Regions from separate parts of the Homo sapiens genome. Here region 1 is linked to region 2. The links are contacts of gene promoters, found by promoter capture Hi-C in human tissues and cell types (Jung and others, 2019). All regions are on one chromosome and are shown on one strand. Each heading gives the region's core, a stretch centred on a gene start or on the middle of the fragment in contact. The rest is flanking DNA. Distances are from core to core; before and after follow the strand shown.

Evidence for each region. The method cuts DNA at HindIII sites, captures the fragments that hold promoters and counts their contacts. A contact is called where the count stands out against the background at its distance.
Region 1: a contact is called between a fragment that was not itself captured here and the fragment with the promoter of EMP2 in region 2, in 1 of the 25 tissues and cell types used here (dorsolateral prefrontal cortex).

The regions. Positions count from the first base shown.
Region 1 is chr16:9,296,198-9,300,510 of GRCh38, reverse strand. It overlaps LOC105371075 (a long non-coding RNA gene), which reads right to left. Exons shown (of 2, transcript XR_933060.2): 2 at 2,537-3,091. Among named protein-coding and RNA genes, the nearest start is that of LINC02177, 57 kb to the left of the region's middle. The HindIII fragment of the contact is 5,241 bases long and covers 1-4,313 here.
Region 2 is chr16:10,578,773-10,583,031 of GRCh38, reverse strand. EMP2 (epithelial membrane protein 2) reads left to right here and starts at 2,434. Exons shown (of 5, transcript NM_001424.6): 1 at 2,434-2,483. RefSeq lists silencers at 2,274-2,513, 3,866-4,160 and an enhancer at 3,831-4,259. The HindIII fragment of the contact is 8,569 bases long and covers 1-3,535 here.

The DNA of each region.
Region 1 (4,313 bases), core at 1,079-3,578, 1.3 Mb after region 2:
TTATGCCATTTAATCCTCTGCAAGGTGGTGGCTTTGCTCCCATTTCACAGATGAGAAAGCCGAGGTTCAGAAAAATGAAAATAATATATTCAAACTCTGATACCAGTAACTAGCCAAGTCAGAATTTAAGCCCTGATCTGTATGACTCCAAAAATCGGTGTGTTTTTCATGAGATAAGCAATCTTCACGCAATAGGAAGAGAGATTGGCAAGAGAGGAAGTAGTGATGCAAAATGGAATAAAAATAAAAATAGGCTGGTGTGGTGGCTCATGCCTGTAATCCCAGCACTTTGGGAGGCCAAGGCAGGCACATCACAAGGTCAAGAGATTGAGACAATCCCGGTCAACATGGTGAAACCCCATCTCTAGTAAAAATACAAAAATTAACCGGGCGTGGTGCGCACACCTGTAGTTCCAGCTACTCAGGAGGCTGAGGCAGGAGAATTGCTGGAACCCAGGAGGCGGAGGTTGCAGTGAGCCAAGATCGCGCCACTACACTCCAGCCTGGCGACAGAGTGAGACTCTGCCTCAAAAATAAATAAATAAATAAATAAAAATTAAAAAGCTACAATGGTACCATCAAAAGCAAAGAGAGCTCAGTCCTTGCAGTCTCAGAGAAAACAAACTCAAACCCACTGCTCCTCCCCTGAAGACATTTGGCCTCACTTACAGGACAGTGAGAAGGTTTCAATCCCTCTTTAAACCTCAGTTTCCTCTTCTGTAAAGTGGGTTGCTTTGACGATAAAGCAAGATAACGTATTTTCAAGCACAGAGTAGGTACTCAAAAAATTATTTTTTAAAAAAATCTGAATAATGACCACCCTAAGTACAACCTTTGGGTCTGGGCCTATCCAAGAGCGCTCACCTACCTTTTTGGCTTTTGGAAAGAATCAGAAATTTGTTGAATCCACACTCTCCAGGAAGCAGAAAAGCTCACTGCCTCTTGCAGAGGACGTAATAGCTAAAGTGTGGCTTTTTAATTTGTTAATCTTTGCAAATCAGGGTTCCAGAGCTTTGCAAAGATGCGGAACCATCAGAGCTCTATACAGAAACAATCAATTCCTTGATTAAAATATGACAGCTTAATTAATTAGTACTTAATAGCTCAACCTTAATTATACCCTACATCGTTATTTGATAATATTCATAAATTTCCCATGTGGCTGTGCACACATGTCTTTTATCAACTGATTACAAATGCCAGGACTTGACCTCCATCCTCGGGAAAATGTCTCGGATGTCAAGAACATGAAAGACTTCATTAACACTAATGCCGACCTCACCAAGGTCTACTCCCAGTTAAGAATTCTCTGATTTAAAAGTTCTTTGAGATCCACCAGAGAAAAGTGATGATTTGTGCACTAAGTTTGCTGTATAGTTTATTTCCTTCAAACCTCAATATTTTAGGAAATTTTATAAAGTATTAAATAATATCCCTGGATCTTACTTTCACCTGAAAAAGACACTCACAGACTTTATTTTTTTTTAACCCGGAGAGTGGGTTAGTTTCTAAACTAGGTGAGAATAGCTGAAATTCTTTGGATGTGATGGGAGAGTTATGGGGACCCCGTATGATGATGATTAATATGGCTTTGAAGCCCAAAAGCCCTGGCTTGAGGCCAGGCACAGTGGCTCACACCTGTAATCCCAGCACTTTGGGAAGCCAAGGTAGGTGGTTCACTTGAGGTCAGGAGTTCAAGACCAGCCTGGCCAAGATGGCGAAACCCCATCTCTACTAAATATACAAAAATTAGCTGGGTGTGATGGTGTACGCCTGTAGTCACAGCTACTCGGGAGACTGAGGCAGGAGACTCACTTGAACCTGAGAGGCAGACGTTACAGTGAGGGGATATCACATCACTGCACTCCAGCCTGGGCGACAGAGCAAGACTCCATCTCAAAAAAAAAAAAAAAATACCTGGGCTTGAATCTCTGTAATTCTGAGCTTTGTGATCTTGATTGAGTTTCTTCACTTCTCTGAGCCTGTCTGTTCATTTGGTAAATTGAAATAATAATTTGTAGTTCTCAGAATGTTGATATGACATTCAAATGGATGGGAAAGTGCCTGGCACGTACTAGATGCTCAATAAATGTTACATGTTAACCCATCAGCTGTGCCAGAGCGTAGGCCATTCTGCTTTGTCCAATTGCCCATGGAGATCACTCACCTGGAGGAGGGGGATCAGACCTCTGTATGTGGGAGCTCTGGAGAATGAGGTGGGAGGAGAGCTATCAGAGAGGATAAGAAGATTATATTCTGCCAAATAAACCAGTTCTTCTGTGGATGTGTCTTTTGGGCTTGGTGGGGGCGGGGGGGGGAGTGCAAGAGAGGGCACAAAACTTCCCAGAAGTCTCCGGAACTACTTTAGGAGCTGCAGCCCTGCCTAGAGGGAAGGGACCCCACTTGAGTTGAGGTGCCCAGCCTCTAAGCATGGCTCTGTCTTGGGTGGCATTAAGCAAGTCCCTCAACTCTTGGAAAATTAGTCTTCTTCTTTGTTAAAGAAATTGGTTCCATTTTTCCAAACACCTGCTGCAACTACAGAATCACCTGGGACATTTATTTAAATAGAGATATAATATACAGCAGCAATCCCCCAGCACACACATCCCAAATAATGACAATTTCCATATAACAATTTTTTTTAGATACTCACTTCTGGGCCTCGATTGATTCAGTGGGTCTGAAGTGATTTCCAAGAATTATTATTTAAATTTCTCAAGGAATTCTGATGGGCAACCAGGTTGGGGAACTAAAAGGATTGCTGGTTTCCAGTGTCCGCATCCACCGGGAAAACTTGGCTTCGTTGCCGCCTTGGCACACCAGTGACACCTGGTGGCTTGGAGGAGTAACTCTAGCTTGTCGCGGCACGTGATTTCGAATCCTCCATTGCATCGCTCCTGGCAGTTGTGGGACGAGATGACGTTTTCCACTCTTCCCAAAAGTTAGATAACATGATTCTCTGTCTCAACATCCATAATAGACACAGCATCTCAGCTCCTGAATCCATCTTTCAAACTACCCATTTGACAGATGTCCACCTTGGACCACCACCATTACTTTTTTGGCCTCCAAATTCTGATGGCACCTGCAACTAGAAACCCCACAAGACATCGCCATTTCAGGAGACACACAGACATGGGGTGACCACTCAGATACCTGGACTGGACTGTGTCCTAAAAGAAGAGACACATGACCTTTCCTTCAGCTCATAGAATTTACAAAGTGAGATAAGACGAGATGCTGAAAAAGGCATAAACTGATGTACTCTCAATCTCCCATTCCCTAGAATCTGTGACCAGACAATGAGAACACATGGGCACAGGGAGGGGAACATCACACACCAGGGCCTGTCGGGGGGTGGGGGGCTAGGGGAGGGATAGCATTAGGAGAAATACCTAATGTAGATGACGGGTTGATGGGTGCAGCAAACCACCATGGCATGTGTATACCTATGTAACAAACCTGCACATTGTGCACATGTATCCCAGAACTTAAAGTACAATAAAATTAAAAAAAAAAAAAAAAAGAATCTGTGACCAGACAACTCTTTACATTCTTGTTGGCCATCCCAAGATTAATCAATCATACCAATAATCGAAATTACAGAAAATCTATCCAACACAGTGGCCATTTCCAGAAATTAGATTGTTCCTCATTAGCGGGGGATTTTCTTTTTCTCTATATTATTTCCCACTAATATTAAAAAAATATTTTTACTGGATTTTTTCCATCATTTTCCCAGCATGGACCTAATAGCAACCAAGAAGTACTTTAAAAATTCCATTATCTTTATCGAATGGAAATTCTCACAATATCACAATTGCCAAAGGTCTCTTTTATTCTGGTGTTAACCTTGGGAAGATTTTAGATGTCCTTTGGGGCATGCACAGAGGACCGAGGAAATCTTTCTTTTCTACATCCTTGGAGAGCTCAGCACACTTGACTAAGTATGAAACTGTTCACTCCTGATTTGTTTCTCTGGTTGAATATTGATTTGACTTCTGTTGTATATCACAAATGCACACCAATCTCCAGAATCGTGGGGCACTGAGGGTTTCTGTTTAATATTCAACTTGGAGCCACTCAAGCACTCACACAATTTTTTTTTTAGTTGCTCCACCTGTTGTCCTCCCAGATGGATGAGGTAAGAATGTCGTGTATAAAACAAAGTAATTGCTGTGGCTGTTAAACAATTCAGGACCACTTCCCCTGAGCTCTGCTGGGGATTTACAAAGTCCCACAGATGCCAAGCTTGAAGAAGCTTAAAAGGGGAGCTGCTCATTTGGAACTGAGTAAATCCAGTGATCTCTCTG
Region 2 (4,259 bases), core at 1,185-3,684:
CCACCAGCTGGTGGCTTGGGAGACAGTACAGGGAGGAGGCATCTCCTGGCTCTGAATCAGAGTGAGAACATGACTGTCTTTTCCAATGATCTTGCAATAGTTCTGATAACAGAAGAAAGACTTCTCTGTGTTAGCATGCTTTTAACATCTTACTGATCACCCCCACTGTTTTTTTAAGAGACAGGGTCTTGCTATGTTGCCTAGGCTGCCTCGGAACTCTCAGGCTCAAGCGATCCTCCAACCTCAGCCTCCCGAGCAGCTGGGATTACAGGTAAGCACCACCGCACCTGGCTCCCTTTTAATAGACGCTAAACCTCAGACTCATGGACTCTTTCAGGCAACAGTATCTGGCTACAATTTACTAACACTGTTTTATTTCAATAGTGTTTATATTCATAAGTTTGTCTTCTACTTTTGGCAGATGGCACTGGTTTCCTGTTTACCATAGCAATATAGGGCTTTCTTTTTCAAATAAACATATTAAAATCAACGGAGTTAATTTAAAGAAAACAATTAAGTGAATACCAGTTCAGGTGGAAGGTGGATATGGCAAAATTTAGAGCTTGAGTGTGGTTAGCATTTGGTAAATAGTGATAGGGTGGAAAGAGGAGAATGGGGTTTGCTGCAGTGAGTCTGGGTTCAAATCCAAACTTTATCAACTGCATAGAGACTTTGGGTAAGTTACTGGTGTAGCTTCTCTGAGCCTTAGTTTCTTCATGGATAAAATGAGGGTAACTTGTTTTGCAGGGCTGCCGTGTTCTATTGAAGGTTATGTTTGTAAAGTAACCGGCACACACTAAGCCCTCAGCAAATGCAGAAACCTGCCTGCTCCATCCCCTACCTGGCCTTTCCATTCTGGGAGACTCTGGAGTTTTCTCTGTCCTCCACATGGCCATAGGCAGGTAGGTGGGCCCTTCCTGGTCCTCCTCTATAGCAACCAGACCTCACCCTCCTCCCCTTTTATGGAGGAAGAGGACTCAGTTCATATTAGTGCCTTCCTGTCCCCTCTCCAGCTCCAAACACACACACACACACACACACACACACACACACACACACACACAATTATCTTGGGGGATGGGAGTCTTGGTTAACTGTAGAATTAAAGGAGATTTGGCAGGTCAGACCCTAGGCCAACTTGGGAAGCTCAAGGCCTGGGGGAGGGGGTGGCCCTTTAGAGGGGATCTCAAATCCCCCAAGGATCTCTAATTTAGAGCCAACAAGGCCCTCTCGTGACAGAGCTCCTCAGCAGGACTAAAAAAAGATGCTCAACAGAAAATACAAACATGGAGTCCAACCAGAGCACAGGATTGCACAATAAATTAACATTTCTTAAAAGGGTTTCTCATTCTCTTGTCAGTAGCACAAGTCAATTGCCTTGTATTCTGGGGTATGTGCAAGTAACATGAACTTGTTAAATTAAAAGTTTAAAATATACTGTTATATGTTGTGACCCTGTTTTGGAATTTCTTCAATTTGTAAAAATACACTGACTCCCACTCCCTCCTTCCACACACACACGATGGGGCTCAGGCGCCTCTGGTCTCCTCCCCCATCCTCCCAAGAGCCCCTAGAGCAGATCAGCCCTCCCAGTTTCCAGATGGGGAAACTGAGGCTGGAAAGAAAGGCAGTTCCTTTGATGTCATTTCCAGGGACACTAAATACCAGGACTGTGGGTTGAAAGGCTGTGGGGAGTGCTTTGTGTGAGTGTGTGTGTGTGTGTGTGTGTGTGTGTGTGTGTACTGGTCGGGTGGGGGGAGTGAACGGGGGGTCCTGGAAGAGTCTGAAGACTGGTTGCTGGGCATCTCGCACCAAGGCCAGGACTCCAGGTGAGATGATAAAAATAACAATGGCTGACGTCTATGGAGCAGGTACCATGAGCCAAACATTGTGGACGTATTACCACCTTCCGACCTATAATCACTCCCATTCCCAGAAGAGGAAACTGAGACAGGGGAGATTATGGACGAGCTCAGGAAGTTCATAAAAGGCCAGAGAAGGGGTTCTAGAGCAGGGAGCCCGGATTCCAAAACTCCTTAGGGAAGAGGAAGAAAAGGGGAGAAGAGGAGAGGAAAGAGAATGAGAGGGATGTGGAAACCTGCAGAGAAGGGAAGACCCTTGCTCCCGGGAGCCTCCCTTTCTCCCTTTTCCCCCGGGCCCGTGCCACCGGCTCCGCCCCAAAGCTGGCCACAGAGCCGCAGGGAGGCGGGCGGGAACGGTGGTGCGGGGGCGCCAGGGCGCTCCCGGCCTCGGCCTTTCCCTCCAGGGCCCCCTCCTTTCGCCGGCGGCCCCTCCCACTCGGCTCTCCCGGCTCCTGGCGTCACGGCCCGGGAGGCGGGATCGGGGAAGGAGGGGCCCCGCCGCCTAGAGGGTGGAGGGAGGGCGCGCAGTCCCAGCCCAGAGCTTCAAAACAGCCCGGCGGCCTCGCCTCGCACCCCCAGCCAGTCCGTCGATCCAGCTGCCAGCGCAGCCGCCAGCGCCGGGTGAGTTGTGGGCGCACCCAGGGCGCGGGGCGACATCGGGGGGGCCCCGGGATCGTGTACGCCCGGGCAGCAGGGACGCGACCCCTCCACTTACTGGACCGGGAGCAGCCCCCGGAATTGGTGACAGTAACGGGAGGGCCGAGGTGCCACCCATGCCGCCGACCTCTGGTCTGCGCCACGCTCGCTCCGGCCCCAGAATTCCACTTCGCCATCCCGGGACAGCTTCCCACGCCTTTTGAGCCGAAGCAGGCGGGAAAAGTTTGGGGAGGAGTCAGGGCGCCTCCCCTCGCCCCGCCGGACTTACACCCGGGGCTCTTGGAGTCCAGGGAGATCCCCAGGTCGCGTGAGGGATTCCCGGGCAGCGTCCCCAGACTCGCCTCGCGGGCAGGACTGGTGCGCCAGGCCGGGCCAGCGGGTCCTCCTGGGCTGCGTACCCCTCTAGGCCCCCGCCGCTGCTCCGTCGCGCCCCCGAGCGGCGAGGAGCGACTTCTTGGGGGTCAGGAACGGTGGAGGAGCCGGGAGGCGCTGCTGGGATGACACCTCTCTCCCTGCCAACTCTAGAAGGGCTTGGGGGGCTTTAAAGAGGCGAGACCGCACCCATGTGTTCCAGAGGTAGGAGAGGCTGCAGCTCGTAGTGTGTATTCTACGCCCTCCCCAAATCCAGAGATCTGAGCACGCTCCAGGGAGGTCTTTTAGGTGAAGATGTGGGGCTGGACATGGGGACTCCGAAGACACCACAGGGCAAAGCTCTCCCTCCAGGCCAGCTTCAGTTTTGGGGAAGGGAGCACTGCCCCTCCCAAGCTTTGAGGGTGTGTGTGTGTGTGTGTGTGTGTGTGTGTGCACCTTGATCTTATAATTCAGCTGTGTCTAAGTAAGGGGCTTGGAGAGGGACTTAAGAAGCCTCCAGTTCAAATACAGTGTGATTCCACTTTTATGAGACACCTAGAATAGGCAAATTTTATAGACAGAAAGTAGAATGATGGTTGCCAGGGCCTGGGGGTACCTGGGAACCGGGAGTTACTGTTTAATGGGACAGAGTTTTTCTTGGGGAGGATGAAAAAGTTTTGGGTATACATAGTGGCAATGGTTACACAGTATCGTGAAGGTATTTAATGCCACTGAGTTGTATGCTTATCATCGGTTAAAATGATGATTATGATGTTATGCATATTTTATCATAAAAATTTTTTAAAAGCCGCCTTTAGCCACCTCTGCACTCCAGTCTGAATCAGAGAGAAATCTAAGAACCGACACATTATTGCTGGGCACCTCTTCCTGGAATTCGGCCTTCAGTTAAGAAAGCTTAAAGAGGACGAGGAAGGGACGGGGTCCTGGTTTCCCAGGAGTCACACAAGGGGAAGGATGGCGACCTGAGCTGCTGGAGGTTTGCAGTTGGCTGGTGCTCGCCCTCCATCTCCGTTTCTCCCTGGGAGCCTCACCCCTGAGCTGTTTCCAGCACGCTCTCCTGTTGCAAGTGGGGAAACAGGCTAGAGATCTAAGTCGGTTTGCTCAAGGCCACTGAGCTGGTAAATGCAAAGAACTAGACCTTGAACCTCCATCTGCCTCCCAAGCCCTCCCCTTCTTTCCACCTGGAGATGCCCTGCTGGTTTGCAGGGAATGAGGGGAGACCCTTCTGGGGAAAACAGGGCGTGGATGCCCACGGGGGCCTTGGCAAATGCCAAGACTACAGCCCAGGGAGAGGCGTGGAGGTGGCAGGAAGGTGCAGAACCTGTTTTCCCACTGAGGGTTTTTGGATCTCACCACCTCCATCCCATG